Regions from separate parts of the Homo sapiens genome. Here region 2 is linked to region 1. The links are contacts of gene promoters, found by promoter capture Hi-C in blood cells and fetal thymus (Javierre and others, 2016). All regions are on one chromosome and are shown on one strand. The core of a region is centred on a gene start or on the middle of the fragment in contact, and the rest is flanking DNA. Distances in the headings are between cores, read along the strand shown. Region 1 holds the start of FRS3 (fibroblast growth factor receptor substrate 3). Region 2 holds the start of CIMIP3 (ciliary microtubule inner protein 3).

Region 1 (2,700 bases), core at 122-2,621:
CTGTGATATAGTAGAGACAGCACTGGTTTAAGACTCAGGAAACCAATATATCGGTCAGTTTTGTTGCTACTAAGTATCTGGGAGACTTAAGTCAACGCCCCCCCCAACTCCCACCTAAGGCCTTAGTTTTTGGGGGAACCATCTATAAACTGGGGAGCTTCTAGCTTAAATAACTTGCAGAGGTAAAAACGTAAGACAAACTTCACTAAAATTGACATGTTCATCTTCCAAGACAGGCTGCTTCAATTTCGCATTTGGAAGCTTGATAGATTTTCTGCTCCCCAAGCTCTGAAAGGCCTAATTTTAACATAAATGTTAACAGTAAGCCAAAATTTCAGGATATCTGAGCCCAAGGTAGACAAGTCAACAAGCCAGGACTCTGCAGACCCTGGACATCCCACATTCCTGCTCTGGAGAAACACTTCCCAGGGCCCCTTGCACCCTGCATCCTTGGACAACTTCCAGGTAAAAGGACCCCATCCCCTTGGTCTGGCTTATTTTCTGGAAGGAAGAAGCAGGCTCAGGGAGGTGTGCACAGACTAAAGATAGGTTGCTGGGAAAATACTGGGGCTTGAGCCACCGACGGGGGCACGGCGCGGGCACTGAAACGAAGAACTCTAGGGTGCAAGATGGGGGAGGGGCTGAATTTCCCTATCACCATCTCTTCTCCTTAAGATATCAGGATGTATCAGATAGCCCACTGAGGAGGGACTGCATTGAGTGGAAATGGGGAGAGGCCTCTGGTCTGGGATAGGTATGGATCAGGGGCAGGAGTGAGAGGGGGGTGTGGGGGCTGAAAACGTATGAGGACGTTTGGGGAAACATGAGCAAGAATTTTGGATGTGGGCATTTTGGATAGTGCAAGGAGAATGGGGATATGAGGGATCCTAGGAATTTCCGGGCAGTGGAAGCATTTGGGGGCATCCAAGAGAAATGGTGGGTCCGTGGGCATAGCAGGAGATTTGTTGAGTGAATGAGGGGGTTCTGAGGGCTCCAGGAGATGCGATGATGTGTCCAGGGCGGAGAGGGTAGAGGTGGGTTGGGGGAGCCAGAGGCTGCAGGACAGGCTACAGGACTGTCAAGGGGAATTTCTACATGCCCGTAAGGAATGAGGAGGTCTGGGTGCGCGCTGTCCCCGGATCCCCGCCCCCAGCCCCGGTGCTCCGCCGCCTGCCCGCCCGCCCGGGGCTTCCTAGGGAGGGAGTGGAGACTGCGGCGCGGCGCGGCGCGGCGCGGCGCGGCCTCGGTGAAGCCGCCTCGTCCCCGCCCCGCCGCGCCCCGACTCACATCGCCCCGCGGCCCGGGCGGCGCCGGGCCCCGCTCCCGGGTCCCGCTGCAGCAGCCGCCGCCCGCCCGGAGCTAAGGCCTCCCCGCCCCGCCCCGCCCCGCGGCCGCGGGGTCGGAGGTCACCGGCAGCACCAACGAGACGCTGCGGGCTGGCGGACCCGAGCGGGGGCGACCGGCACGCAGCCTAGAAGGTCCCTTTGGAGGACTTTGCAGTCGGGAGCAGTGAGCATGCGCAGACGCCAGAGGGCGCTCCTGGCCAGGGGCTGAGCAAGCCCGGAGGGGACAGGGCGGAGCCTGCGGCGGAGGCGGGGCGCGGAGGCGGGGCTGAGGACACCAAAGTTGGGGGTGGTCCGGGGAGCGGAAAGGGGACGGAGGGTTGGGCGAGAAACGAAGGGAAGGGGAGAGGGTCTGAAGGGACCTGAAAGGAGAAGGGCAAGACGATGGAACCTGGAAGAGGGTTGAGGGGAGGGGAAGGGGCCAGGGGGACCACTGGGGACAAGGGGGAGAGAACTGAAGGGAAACACGCGGAGGAGCGGGGCTGGGAGACCACAGGGAGAGTTTGGGGAGACCTGGGAACTGCGGAGAGACAGGGCTGCGGGCCCGGCGAGGCGTTTCCATTCAGCGAATGGTTGAAAACCCAGCGTAAACGCGGCTCCCGGCGTCTGCTGGATGCCTGCCGGGCGCAGTCCGAGCCAGAGAGCCCTTGCACCTGCATGGCAGAGGCCATGGAGCCCGCACATTTCCACCCTGAGATCCCATAAATGTGGTTTTGTTTTCCTTTTTTTTTTCCTCCCCCCAATCTGCAGCTCCAGGCCCCTCCCTGAGCCGCCCCTCTCCACCAGCCGGGGAGGGGCGGGCGGGGGCCGCTGGGGCGTGGGAGAGGAAGGGCCGCGCTATTAGGGCGGGCGGGGGCGGACGGGGGCGGGCGCTGAAGCCTTGGGGTGGGGACCGGGTGAGGGGCCTGACGGCAGAGTCGGTCCAGAACTGCCCGGACAGCGACGCACAGCGAGGGTGAGACCCCAGCGGAGTCCTGGTCCCCTCCCCTAAAATCCCAGCAGCCAGACCGGGAACCCCAGCGGACTCGGGAAACACCGCGTCCCAGCCCCGGAGGCGGGCCCGCCAAGTTCCAGAAAAACTCTGGGGATCTATCGAGAGGGCAGTTGGCGGGACTGGGCACTCCCCTTCCTTCTCCCTCCCACTGTCCCCAGAAATCTTCCCATCCCTCCACCTCCCCAAGCCCTAAGTCCTCTCGGGCTCTGCCCTTCAGGGCAGCGGGTGTTGGGGATGTCCAGCTCCTGAGCCCTCTTGCACGGAGGCTCTGCACGGAGGCAAGACAAGGGGTTCAGCTCTGTCCCTTATCTGAGGTGGGAGGGGGAAGGGAATTATGGAAGGAATCCAGCTGGCCTGTTAGTA
Region 2 (2,700 bases), core at 136-2,635, 380 kb after region 1:
ATCAACACCCCAATTTCCAGTCTGCCTTCGGCCCCAAAGTGCATCTTGTCAGCGTTGACTCAGGGCCAGGAAGAAAACAAATAATTCCGGGCCCAGCCCAAGCTGGTGTGGCAGGAAGGCACCCAATAGCTCTATCTACCTCCCGCTGGAACTCTCTCCTTCCCCTCAACCAAGGGAGAAGCCCATGTCATTCCTACATGTGGGATTTCTGACATTACTCCTGGAAGCTGCCTACCAAGTGTGGTATTGGGGAGACAGGACCCTAGGGAGGTAGGGGAGCTGATTTTTGAAGATGGGGACAGGACAGCCCATTCAACCACCCACCCATCAATCCAATTACCCACCCACACATAGTCATAGCTGATGTTTACTCAATGCTTACTCTGTACCAGGCACTGTCCTAAGTGCTTTGCCCAACTCTATTAGGTAGGGACTTTACCCATTTTACAGATGAGAAAACAGAAGCATAGAGATGTCAATTAATTTTCCCAAAGTTACACACTAGTAAAGTAGTACAGCCAGAATTCAAGCTCAGGCATTCTAACTCCCAGACCTGCAATCCTCTATACCACAGCCATCACCATCTGTCCATTTACTGACCATCCATCCATCCACTCACACATGGTCACTCCTATTCAGCCATCTGTCTATCCACCTGTTCATCCATCCCTTTATCTCCCAACCCTCTGTTCAAAGCAATCCATGAGAAGGAATGGCATATGTAGAGGCTCAGAGGGGAGAGAGTGGGGCATGTCTAAGAAACTAGCTACTCCATAGAGAGCAAGGGAAAGATAGCAAGAGATGAGGCTAAGGAGATGAGCAGGGCTCAAATCACAAGGGTTGGCCCATCCACCATCTATCTGCCAACCCAGTCCATCCACCTGTCCATCCACCCTCCCACTCATGTCCACCCATCCATTCATCCACTCATCTCTGTAATTTGGAAGGCAGATAGATGATAGATAGATGATAAATAGATGATTGACAGGTGGTAGATGATAGATGATAGATAGATAGATAAATAGATAGATAAATAAATAGATAGATTAGATAGATAGATAGAATGAAGAGTTGCCAAGGTACATTTCCTTCCTGACAGTGATATTGGGACATGGGGGGATATTAGGACTTCTGGAGGCACCTTGATAATTAGGATGATCTCTCTCCATTCACCTCCTGCCCACAGTTTTAGGGTTCTATGGGTTTGTGGGAAGAGGGAATAGCATAGTGGGCCAGTGTCAAGGTTAAAAGACCCTTCCAGGTCCTGAAACGTCAGTCCCCAGCCCTGGCCTCATGTCTCCTTGGGAAGACAGAAGGAATTGTGTTGTAAAGAGGTGTCACAATGCCCCCTGCCCCATACAAGTTCTCCCCACCTTGGCACTCTCAGTATCCTGCCAAGAGTCCTCCCTGACCACCAGAAGTTCCACCTCACCATCAAGAAAGGCCCTGGTCCAGGATGTGCAAGGTGTGATGAAATCACAGGGCTGGGGAAGGTCAGCTCGGGGTCACAAGAAGCCTGATGGGCAGGAAAGAGCATGAAAGCCCCAGCCAGCCTCACATGTGCGGCTGGGAGGTAGGTCCTCTTACAAAAGGCTTAGTTGGGTGCTGGTGCTGGTGCTGCTGCCTGCCTTGTACTCCCCAGCTGTCGGACCTCTGCGATCTCTCTGGGGAGATGGAGAGAGGGAACAGGACACCCTCCATCTTGCTTCCTCTGCCCCTTCACTGCTGTAAAGTGTGTCCTGGACTGTTTGGTTCGTGTTACACCATCTCCAAGGCAAACTTGAGATAAATAATAATTGTAGCTAAAGTTTGAGTGCTTAAGAGGTCTAGGCACCTTACATGGACTAGCTCATTAAGTCCTCACATGAACCCTATGAGGTAGAGCTCTTGTTATTCCCACATTATACTTCGGAAAATTGAGGTACAGAGATTATAATTTGCCTAAGGATCAGGCAGCTAGTGAGTGAGAGGGCTGGAATTCTATTTATTTTTTTTTTGAGACTCGCTTTGTTGCCCAGGCTGGAGTGCAGTGGCACAATCTCAGCTAAGTGCAACCTCCGCCTCCTGTGTTCAAATGATTCCCCCACCTCAGCCTCCCAAGTGGCTGGGATTACAGGCACCTGCCACCACGCCCGGCTAATTTTTTTGTATTTTTAGTAGAGACGGGGTTTCACCATGTTGACCAGGCTGGTCCCGAACTCCTGACCTCAAGTGATTCTCCTGCCTCGGCCTCCCAAAGTGCTGGGATTACAGGCGTGAGCCACTGTGCTCAGCCATTTTTTTTTCTTTTTTTTTTTTTTTTACTTTTTTATAAAATAGAGATGAGGTCTCTCAATGTTGCCCAGGCTGGTCTTGAACTTTTGAGCTCAAGCAATCCTCCCACTTCAACCTCCCGCTGAATTACAGGTGTGAGCCACCGGGCCCTGCAGGGAACTGGAATTTGAACTGGGGTAGCTGGCTCCAGGCTCTCATGCTACCCAGTCACATGAGGAAGCTGAGGCCTACCCCCGGCTTCCCTAACCACTCCCTTCAAAGCCCCTGTGCTCCCCCAAAGGGAAACGTGCTCTCCTATAGGTTCAGACAGGTATGTGTGTGAAACCACGGTGTAACTGCCCGAGAGGCTGAGAGTAATGACTATTTGCACTGTGCCTTTACCGTTCCCAGCACTCATGGCACCCCACCACAAGCTGGTGAATTAGA

What was found. The method cuts DNA at HindIII sites, captures the fragments that hold promoters and counts their contacts. A CHiCAGO score of 5 or more calls a contact.
Region 2: a contact is called between the fragment with the promoter of CIMIP3 here and the fragment with the promoter of FRS3 in region 1, in 6 of 17 cell types (naive CD4 T cells, total CD8 T cells, naive CD8 T cells and 3 more). The highest score is 8.8, in naive CD4 T cells.

The regions. Positions count from the first base shown.
Region 1 is chr6:41,778,529-41,781,228 of GRCh38, forward strand. It overlaps FRS3 (fibroblast growth factor receptor substrate 3), which reads right to left and starts at 1,372. Exons shown (of 7, transcript NM_006653.5): 1 at 1,288-1,372. PRICKLE4 (prickle planar cell polarity protein 4) reads left to right here and starts at 2,254. Exons shown (of 8, transcript NM_013397.6): 1 at 2,254-2,298. RefSeq lists silencers at 1,098-1,247, 1,278-1,687, 1,968-2,037. The HindIII fragment of the contact is 6,259 bases long and covers 260-2,700 here.
Region 2 is chr6:42,154,021-42,156,720 of GRCh38, forward strand. It overlaps CIMIP3 (ciliary microtubule inner protein 3), which reads left to right and starts at 1,386. Exons shown (of 2, transcript NM_001384994.1): 1 at 1,386-1,465. The coding sequence starts at 1,457. It overlaps GUCA1ANB-GUCA1A (GUCA1ANB-GUCA1A readthrough), which reads left to right and starts at 1,386. Exons shown (of 5, transcript NM_001319062.2): 1 at 1,386-1,573. The HindIII fragment of the contact is 11,083 bases long and covers 1-2,700 here.